Linked DNA regions of Homo sapiens: region 1 is linked to region 2. The links are contacts of gene promoters, found by promoter capture Hi-C in blood cells and fetal thymus (Javierre and others, 2016). All regions are on one chromosome and are shown on one strand. Each heading gives the region's core, a stretch centred on a gene start or on the middle of the fragment in contact. The rest is flanking DNA. Distances are from core to core; before and after follow the strand shown. Region 1 overlaps AGPAT3 (1-acylglycerol-3-phosphate O-acyltransferase 3). Region 2 holds the start of RRP1 (ribosomal RNA processing 1).

The links. The method cuts DNA at HindIII sites, captures the fragments that hold promoters and counts their contacts. A CHiCAGO score of 5 or more calls a contact.
Region 1: a fragment that was not itself captured here is called in contact with the fragment with the promoter of RRP1 in region 2 in 10 of 17 cell types (erythroblasts, megakaryocytes, endothelial precursors and 7 more); the score reaches 13.9 in erythroblasts.

Annotation. Positions count from the first base shown.
Region 1 is chr21:43,935,501-43,940,749 of GRCh38, reverse strand. The region is part of intron 2 of AGPAT3 (1-acylglycerol-3-phosphate O-acyltransferase 3); the gene reads right to left. Among named protein-coding and RNA genes, the nearest start is that of AGPAT3, 73 kb to the right of the region's middle. RefSeq lists enhancers at 528-1,426, 1,670-2,069, 1,427-2,327, 2,606-2,655. The HindIII fragment of the contact is 4,356 bases long and covers 1-3,835 here.
Region 2 is chr21:43,785,878-43,791,046 of GRCh38, reverse strand. It overlaps RRP1 (ribosomal RNA processing 1), which reads right to left and starts at 1,470. Exons shown (of 13, transcript NM_003683.6): 1 at 1,285-1,470. The coding sequence starts at 1,417. RefSeq lists silencers at 1,060-1,229, 1,440-1,669 and enhancers at 1,300-1,409, 3,565-4,105, 4,106-4,647. The HindIII fragment of the contact is 31,682 bases long and covers 1-5,169 here.

The sequences.
Region 1 (5,249 bases), core at 408-2,907, 150 kb before region 2:
TGATGGTAACTACGCATTTTCTGCTCAGGGTGCAGATCACCATGTAAATCAGCCATCCTACAGCACCTGCCTTGGGGGGCAGTGGGAGTCTGTGCCCATACATCAGGCACTTGTCCGTCCCAGGACATGCCAGGCATCTACAAACACCGCCCAGATGGTATGAAACCGCTCAGCTCCTTCAGGAATGTTCTGAACAAAAACCCCTTTGCAGAAGGATGGGAGAGCTGCCCAAGGACCCCAGGAGGGATCAGAATGAGTTCCTGCCATCCCCTGCTTCCCTACCTCCCAGGAGTTCCCCTGCAAAGGGCTAGGCAGGGTTTGTTGACATGCAGAGAACGGTCCAGGGCTGGAAGAGGAGGGGAGCACACAGTAAAGGCCCCCAGGACTGCCCAGGCCCCCGGGCCCCGGCCTCACTCACCAGTAGAAGTAATAGGCCAAAGCCACCGCCAGCAGGGCCACACAGATCCCTGAGAAGAGGCAGGCCGGGTAGCTGCTCAGCATCTTCAGCCCTCGGTCCTGTGCTGCCTGAAGCCGGCGAGAAGGACCTGCGGGGAGCAGGTGTCAGCCTGGCCAAAGGGTGAGGAGCCGAGCTCAAGCGGAGGGATTAGGACCTGGCCTGAGCTGCCCAGGCTTGGCAGGGGCCGTTGCCACCCAGAGCATCTGCTCAGCAGGAAGTGGGTGCTGGGCACCCCCAGGGTGCCACCTGCGTGGCCAGCACTGTCCTTCTAGTCACAGAGACCAACTCAAGGGACCCCAGGAGCGCGCTGAAGCAGGACATACACACAGGTTCGTCCTCCTGCGCACAGCTGCGGGCTCTGCCGTCGGGGCACCGGCTAATCCAATAAGCAGCTTTTGGCCAGGAGCTGCTCACTGTAAACAGGCAGAGTCACAGGGCCAGCCAGGATGCAGGTCAACGAGCCCCACCCCAGCACAGACCCCTAGGACCAGGGACCTAAGAGTGCCCACATCTTCCTCCTCACAGCACCAGTGTGTCAAGGGGCCAGGTTGTGGGTGAGTTGGTGAGGTCTACCCTGTGCTCAGCCGTGGGCTAGCAAGATCCCTGAAAGGCCTCCAAGTGATAGGCAAACGTCCTGCATGTGGGGCATGGCTGTGGGCTCAACAGAGAACAGCCACCCAGCCTGCCGGACAGGCCAGGCGCCCGCGACACTCTCTCCAAACTGCAGCAAGGTTTGCTAAACGGTGGTGCTCCGGGTCCCATGTTCAGAGCTCCCACGCTGGAAGAGCTGTGGGGTGGGCCGCCTCTTATCCTCCAGAAGTCAGGCACGTCCCTCCATGTCACTCCAGCCTGAAACCTCTCAATCTGAAATGGAGTTCAAAGGCTAAACTAGGGAGATGAGATCAAAGGACCCAGGGACCAGAGCATCGCCCTGGGAAACCTCCTGGGGCGCGGGAGGCCCCCGACAACAACAGCGACGGGGGTGGGGTGTTATCAAGGGAGCGCCCGCTAGAGGCCCTCGACAGCACACGGGGACGGGGATGGGGTGTTCCTAAGGGAGCGCCCCCTGGAGGCCCGGCCAGTGCATTCTCGCTCAGGGTCACGGGGCCACAGTGGGATAAAGTGAAAGTCACTGCTCGTGCATCTCCCACGGCATCAGACACAACGAACCTGTCCCCAGCAGGGTTTGCCCAGGATGCTCCCCTAGCCTGGTCGCAGCCCCGTCCCAGCCCTGGTGCGGCCCCTGCGTGCTCTGTGGGAAACTGTGGACTGAGAGGTGGGAACCGCTCAGCTCAGTCCTGACATGCTCAGCCTTTACTTCTGTGAACCTGTGAACCTGGTGGAGGAGAGAGCGTGATGGGGCAGCCGCAGCCTTCCCAGGCCTGGGGGAGCCCCTCCTTCCCCCCACAAGGCTTCAGGTGACTGCATCCCCGGCCAACACATTGACCCCATGTGACTCCACGTGACACCCAGAATCGCCCGCTAAGCCACTCCTGGATTCCTGACCCTCCGCAGCTGTGTGAGATAATAGATGTCTGCTGTTTTCGCTGCTAAGTTTGTGGGTAACTCGTTACACAGCAATGTAACAAACACGGTAAGGCAACCAGGCAGATCAATATGAGGCGCACCATTTACTGGAAGTATTGGATGACTATTTATAGGGCTGGAGTTAGTGTCTGAACAAAATAGAAGATTTGCAGGCCGGGCACGGTGGCTCACACCTGTAATCCCAGCACTGTGGGAGGCCGAGGCTGGTGGATCACCTGAGGTCAGGAGTTTGAGACCAGCCTGGCCAACATGGTGAAACCCTGTCTCTATTAAAAATACAAAAAATTAGCATGCCTGTAATCCCAGCTTCTCAGGAGGCTGAGGCAGGAGAATCGCTTGAACTCGGGAGGCAGAGGTTACAGTGAGCACTCCAGCCTGGGCAACAAGAGCAAGACTCTGTCTCAAAAAAAAAAAAAAAAAAAAAAAAAGATTTGCAGATTCAAGAATTCTGACTTCTAATCCTCAGTACGTTCCTCAGTACGTTCCTTCTATCCCAATGAGCGATGTTAACTAACTTAGCTCTCTAGCGTAACATGCACATCATGGAACCAAGACATTCATTTAATCCTGTTAGCAGCCCAAGAAACCCAACAGTGAGTGTGAGTGTGTGTGTGTGTGTGTGTGTGTCTGTGTGTGTGTGAGAGAGAGAGAGAGAGAGAAAGTGGGGGAGAGAGGAGAAATGCAGCCCTCCCACCAGACAACAGCAAGCGTGTGAGCTGCTTCCTCCTCCCTCTGCAGCGAGGACCCAGACAACTTCCTTGGTCCAGCACTGTCTGCACAGTCACCCCAAAATATGCAAATATGACTGGCTGCCCACACAACCTCTGCCTGGCACTTCTTCTAACAAGAACCTGCCTGAGGTATAGAAGGCAATGGCTATGCAGAAGTCATCTGGTTTCATGGGATGCGTCCTAATGACTGCCTTAGAGATAGTTAATGAGAGAGAGAAAGGAGTCTTTTGGAGCTTCCAGAAAGGTTTCAGCCCCTGACAAAAGGTTGCAAAAAGAAATTTCCCTTTTCCTGTCCAGGCATGGTGGCTCACGCCTGTAATTCCAGCACTTTCGGAGGCAGGAGGATCACCTGAACACAGGAGTTCAAGGCTGCAGTGAGCCACGATTGCGCCACTGCACTTAAGCCTTAGTGACAGAGGGAGACCCTGTCTCCAGAAAAACAAAACAAAACAAAAAAAACTCCCTTTTCCTGACATCAGACTTATCTGTATCAAGTTGTGATGGCTGGTGCAGAGGCAGCCACGATGTCACCTCAAGGAGACAGGCCTGCAGTGGAAAGCAACCTAGAGGGTGGCCCAGAGGAGGAACAGATATAGTCAGGGGCCTTGCGCGCCTCCGCCAAGCCAAGCAAAGGCCAGCGTAGAGGAGCTGACCCCTGGGGCTTCCCACCTAGGTCAGCTCAAGGCAGATTCTGCTACTTTCAGCTCAATTCACCAGCGCCCCACCCAGTGGGCCTTTGGGACTCACACATATCTAGGGACCAACTTCTTATCTACATGCTTTGCATTTCCCAAAATCCAAAAGTCACTCATGGGTACCCCTGTGATAACAGCAAGCCTGAGTTTTCTCCAGGGCCACAGGAAGCCACAGGGTCAACGTTCCCCCACCCAGGAGTGCCAGCCCCACTCAGGTTTGCAGGCGGGGTGTTCTTTTATCTTAAAGCAAACATGGCTACCATTCAGAACAGTACGTGAATGGAGAATTCCTTTTAAAAACAAAACCAAAGATTTCTATTAGAGAAAAATACTTGGGGGAACCAGCATCCCAGGGACCCACAGCCTACTTCTAAATATGTCATTTTTTTAAGAGGAAAAAAGCTTGTTCACATCTTGAAGATTTTAACAAATTTTAGGGCAAGGAAACAGGCCGTGCAGTTGCAAATACACAGGGAAGCCCTTTTCGCTGAGGCACAGAGGCCTGGGAGCCGCTTTAGGCGGAGCTGACACGGGAGAGCCAGGCTGGCGCCAGGCATGGCTCCACTCAGAAGCACTAGGCCTCTGCGCCTCCATCCAAGAGCTGCGGTCGGGAAAAGGAAAGGATGTCTTGTTTTTGCCAAGGTATCTGAAGTCTCTGTGGGCAGCAGTCGGGTGAGCTTTTCGGCTGTGATAGAACAGAAGTATTATAGGGGCAGAGCTCATTCACGAGCAGGTCTTTCAACACAGGCATTACCGGCGTGCCACCTGATTCTCTCACTGTGTCTTCCTCTGCCGGAGAAATCCTTGTACATGAGGAGACAACTAAAACTTGCAGCTTTGACTCCCAGGCCATTCTTCCGGAGGGAGGCACTGTGGCCGTGTGCCAGGAGGGCAGAGGCACTGGCCCCACGGAGGACAGCAGTCTGCTCTCAGACAGACGAACGCTGCAGGTGCACCCACAGAAAAGTCCACAGCCCCCGGTAAACAATGCCGTGCTCGCCACTGCTAGGGGAGGCTGAGGAACCCGGCTGGGGTTGGAGGCCTGGTGCCAGCCTGGTGTGACGTCAGGCACAAGGGGCTGGGGCTGCATTGTCCTCCCCTCTCCCTGCTTTTGCTTCAGTCCTGGACTCTTTGGGCTGCAGAGCTGGGGTCCTGGCAGGTCACTTGACTTCTCTGGCCTTGGCTCCCCCTCTTTGAAGTGAGCAGATTGACCACCACGGCTGTCCCCAGGGGTGCCCGAGCTGCAGGTGTGGGGGCCAGGGCTGCGGCATGTGAGCCTTCCGTGTGACCCTGCAGTGGGGCCTAGGCCTTGCTTAGGAACAGCTGGGCGGGCTCCGCTACTGTTCTACACTCTGGCTTCCGACTCGAGCCGCCATCAGGGAAAAAGCCTGGCATGATCTGTTTGCTTAGCGCACCTGGAGAGCCAGGGCACTGCCCCAAGCCCCGAGCCCTGGCTGAGGCTTCTCCACTCCTTAATCTCCAGAGTAGCTGAGGTGCTGTGGGCCTGAGTCTGAGCTCCTCCGTGGCCGCCTGTGATGATGAAGCCAGGTTGTCCTTCCTGCCCCACGCCTGGGTCACTGCCTTTCTCGTGATAAGGAAAAAAAAAAATCCCTTCCTGGGAGAGTCGTTCCCTTTCCATGTCTGAATAACAGACTCCCCAAATGCCAGGCAGACCCAGCCCTGAGGCCCCAGAATGCCCCTACCGAGCAGTGAGCATCTGTGGGCCCGGCCTCAGGTCTCTCCGAGCTCCGCAGCAGCGCCGATGCCCAGTACTGCGTGCAGAGGCCGCCCTGCAGGCCGCTCCTGGACTTGACCTCT
Region 2 (5,169 bases), core at 221-2,720:
TCCTAAGCTGGACAGTGGCCACAAGGTTAATCTGTTGGTGATAATTCATCCAGCATTATACTGAGGGCTTCTGCACTCTCCTGTAATATATCTCAAATACTAAAAGAAGAAAGTGAACTCAGGCATTCAGACTACGAGAGAAACAGAAATTACTGAGGCCAGGTGCGGTGGCTCACGCCTGTACTCCCAGCACTTTGGAATTGAGTGCTGAGGCAGGATCACTTGAGGCCAGGAGTTCAAGACCAGTCTGGGCAACATAGGAAGACCCCAATTTGTACAAAAAATACAAAACTTAGCTGGCCTGGCCGCACGGTGCCAGTAGTCCCAGCTATTGGGGAGGCTGAGATGGGAGGCTCACTTGAGCCTGGGAGGTAGAGGCTGCAGTGAGCTGTAATCGTGCCAATGCACTCCTCCACCACGGATGACAGTGAGGTCTGTCTCACTCAGAAAAATAACAAAAAATTTTAATTTAAAACATTACTCAGTTGACATTCACTGAAGTCCTATGTGTCTGGCAACCTGTTCCTGCAGCAGTGGTTCTCAGGCTGAGTGTGGGGAGCAGAAGCACTTGAACAGCTTCATAAAGCAGATGCCAGTCCTGATTTAGTAGGGCTGGGATCCTAGAACTTGCATTTCTTTCTTTTCTTTTGCGATGGAAATGGAGTCTTGCTATGTTGCCCAGGCTGGACTCCTGGGCCTTTGTGATCCTCCCACATCGACGTGCCAAGTAGCTGGGATTACAGGCTTGGGCCACTGCGCCCGGCATAGAACGTGTATTTCTAACAAATGTCCAGGGGATGCTACTGCTGATGGGGGACCACGCTCGGAGAACCACCTGGTACCATGAACAAGAAGTAGATTCTCGGCCCTCAGAGAGGTACTCTCGAGTGGAAATCGGAAAACAATCCAATAATTAACGCAAAACAGAAAACTGCAAACAGTGGGAAATGCTGCCATGAGGGAAAAATACTGGGTGCCCAAACAGCAGGGCAGCAGGAGTACATGGTCTACTGGAGGGAGGGGACGCCTGAGCTAGGAAAGGGGTTACGGGGCTGGGGAGGAGCGTTCTCGCAGAGGGACCAGAGTCACCGCACCACGAGGGAAAGCGGCGGCGGGGGCCGTGGGCCGGTAACAGCGGGAACAGGCCAGTGGACCCCGCCTGCCCGGCCCGGCCACGTGGAGGTTCCACAGGGCTCGGAGGGCCCCCAGCTCCGGCCGCCGCCGCCCACACCCGCACCAGCCCAGCCGGCCCCCGAGACGCCAGCCGCCCACACCCCCGCCAACCTGCGGCCCGCTGAGTCCTGGCGACGATGTATTTCCGGAGCTTCCTCACCGCCCGGTCCCGGGTCACCTGCTCATTCCCCGCCAGGCGCTGAGCCAGCTGGATCTCAGGCGGGAGCTGCACGCGCGAAACCATGACGCCGACGGCCGAGACCCCCTGTCCCGGAGTCGCCTGGTACCCAGCACACTGAGCACGCGCCTCCTGCGCCCGCCTCCTCCTGGCCCCGGCGCGTGGCGTGACGTCACAGCCCGCGACACCGCCCAGGCGCACGCCACCGCCGCGCAGTGGCCGAGCCGCGCAACTGCAGCCCCCGGAGGCCGAAGGCTACAGAGGGGGCGCGCGCTCCCTGCCTGTGCGCATGGGCGGAACCAGCGAGCGCGCGCCTGCGCCTGCGCCTGCGCCTCGCTGGGGCTGCGGTGGGTCGGGATTCTGAGGCAAAGATCTGTTGTTTTTTAATCTCATTTTATTTATAACCCCACTTGTATTTTTTTCCTGAGACAGGGTCTCGCTCTGTTACCCACGCTGGAGTGCAAGGCGCGATCTCGGCTCACTGCAGCCTTTGCCTCGCGGGCTCCAGGGATCCCCCAGCCTCAGCCTCCCGAGGAGCTGGGACCACGGGCGCCACCACTCTCGGCTCGAAACTTTATTTTTAAAACCAGGGGTGTGCCGGGCGCGGTGGCTCACGCCTGTAATTCCAGCACTTTGGGAGGCTGAGGCGGGTGGATCACGAGGTCAGGAGTTTGAGACCAGCCTGACCAACATGGTGAAACCCTGTCTCTACTAAAAATACAAAAATTAGCCAGGCGTAGTGGCGGGCGCTTGTAATCCCAGCTACTCAGGAGGCTGAGGCAGGAGAATTGCTTGAATCCGGGAGGCGGAGGTTGCAGTGAGTCGAGATTGCGCCGCTGCACTCCAGCCTGGGCGACAGAGTGAGACTCTGTCTCAAAAAACAACAACAAAAAAAAAAACGGGGAGGCTGCATTTGGCCTAGGGCCACAGTTTGACATACCCTGAAGTAGAAAAATATTCTTTATTTTTAGAAATAACTGCAGAACTCTTTGGTAAAGGTGACCTGTCATGATGTCTGTAATTCATTCTGCAAAAAAGTAAATCATTACACGCACATATGTGTATGCAGATAAGCAACTATGGCACACTGTTAACAGTTGTGGCGTTGGCCGGGCGCGGTGGCTCACGCCTGTAATCCCAGCACTTTGGGAGGCCGAGGCGGGCGGATCATGAGGTCAGGAGATCGAGACCATCCTGGCTAACACGGTGAAACCCCGTCTCTACTAAAAACACAAAAAATTAGCTGAGCGTGGTGGCGGGCGCCTGTAGTCCCAGCTACTCAGGAGGCTGAGGCAGGAGAATGGCGTGAACCCCGGAGGCGGAGCTTGCAGTGAGCCGAGATCGCGCCACTGCACCCCAGCCTGGGTGACAGAGTGAGACTCCGTCTCAAAAAAATACAAGTGTGGCGTCTACAGGCAGGAATACAGGTCTTCATTGACCTATCTTCTGACATTTTCTATGTATGAAATTTTTCATAAAAAGTTGAAAAGGCTGGCAGTGGTGGCTCATGCCTGTAATCCCAACCATCACTTGGGGAGGCCAAAGCAGGTGGATCACCCGAGGTCAGGAGTTCGAGACCATCCTGGCCAACATGGTGAAACCCCATCTCTACTAAAAATACAAAAATTAGCTGGGTGTGGTGGCGAGCACCTGTAATCCCAGCTACTCGGGAGGCTGAGGCAAGAGAATTGCTTGAACACAGGAGGCGGAGGTTGCAGTGAGCCAAGATCCGGCCACTGCACTCCAGCCTGGGCGACAGATTTTGAAACTCTGTCTAAAAAGAAAAAAAAAAGGAAACATTTAGCAACTGGTTTTAGAATCTGAATTAGTTCTTGTTGTTGTTGTTGTTGTTGAGACAGTTTCACTCTGTCGCCCGGGCTGGAGTGCAGTGGCACGATCTTGGCTCACTGCAACCTCCACCTCCAGGATTCAAGCAATTTCTGGCTAATTTTTGTGTTTTTAGTAGAGATGGGGTTTCACCATGTTGGCCAGGCTGATCTCGAACTCCTGACCTCAGGTGATCGGGCTGCCTCGGTCTCCCCAAAGTGCTGGGATTACAGGCGGGAGGCACTGCACCCAGCCAGCCTCTCCTCTTCTTATGAGGACGTCAGTCAGTGTGGACTTAGGCCTGCCTTAATTTAGCATGACCTCATGTTAACTAACCATGTCTGGAAAGACCCGTTTACCAAATTAAGGCCACATTCCGAGGTTCCAGCGGACATGACTTTCCGGGGGACAAGCACGAATGAGAAGAGGCCCTGCACTCACACAGTGGGTATGTCGCACGCACACACTGGGTATGTCACGCACAGTGGGCATGTTGCACGCACACAGTGGGCATGTCAGGCGCACAGTGGGTATGTCGCACGCACACAGTGGGTATGTTGCACGCACGCAATGGGCATGTCAGGTGCACAATGGGCATGTCAGGCGCACAGTGGGTATGTCTCGCACACAGTGGGTATGTCGCATGCACACAGTGTCAGGCACACAGTGGGTATGTTGCACGCACACAGTGGGTGTGTCGCGCACAATGGGCGTGTCAGATGCACAGTGGGTATGTCGCGCACAGTGGGTATGTCAGGTGCACAGTGGGTATGTGGCACGCACACAGTGGGCATGTCAGACGCACAGTGGGCATGTCACGCGCACAGTGGGCATGTCGCACACACACAGTGGGCATGTCAGGCGCACAATGAGCATGTCAGGCGCACAGTGGGTATGTCGCGCACACAGGGTGTGTCATGCGCACAGTGGGTGTGTCGCACGCACAGTGGGTATGTCGCACACACACAATGGGTATTTCACGCGCACAGTGGGTATGTCGCACTCACACAGTGGGTATGTCGCGCGCACAGTGGGTATGTCAGGTGCACAGTGGGTATGTCGCATGCAAACAGTGGGCATGTCGCACGCACACAGCGGGCATGTCAGGTGCACAGTGGGCATGTCGCGCGCACAGTGGGTATGTCGTGCGCACAATGGGTATGTCGCACGCACACAGTGGGTATGTTGCACGCACATAGTGGGCATGTCAGGCGCACAATGGGCATGTCAGGTGTACAGTGGGTATGTCATGCAAACAGTTGGTATGTTGCACACAGTGGGTATGTCGCATGCACACAGTGGGTGGTATCGTGCATGCAATGGGCATGTCAGGCTCACAGTGGGTATGTCAGGTGCACAGTGGGTATGTCTCGCACATAGTGGGTATATCAGGCACATAGCGGGTATGTCACACCCAGCTGCTGAGAACAGGGTGGGAGGGACTAAGCTGTACTAGGAGGGTGAAGTTGTGCACTGGGGAGCACACCTTCACACCAGGCTCGAGATGCCAGGCTTCAGACGGAAAGGACATGGCAGGTGGTCTCTAAAGATATGGAAGACTAAGATTTGGAAATCGAATAAAGTGGCTTTTAAAAAATCTCTTCTCGGGCTGGGCGTGCTGGCTCATGCCTGTAATCCCAGCACTTTGGGAGGCTGAGGTGGGTGGATCACGAGGTCAGGAGATCCAGACCTCATAGGTGAAACCCGTCTCTACTAAAAACACAAAAAATTAGCTGGGTGTGGTGGCGGGCGCCTGTAGTCCCAGCTACTTGGGAGGCTGAGGCAGGAGAATGGCATGAACCTGGGAGGCAGAGCTTGCAGTGAGCCGAGATAGCACCACTGCACTCCAACCTGGGCGACAGAGTGAGACTCCGTCTCAAAAAAAAAAAAATCTCTTCTGCTGGCATGACCTGTTGAAGGCAGAAACAAAAACGCTCTCCAGGGTAACCTCCTCCCCCTTTTTTTTTTGACAGAGTCTTGCTCTGTCACCC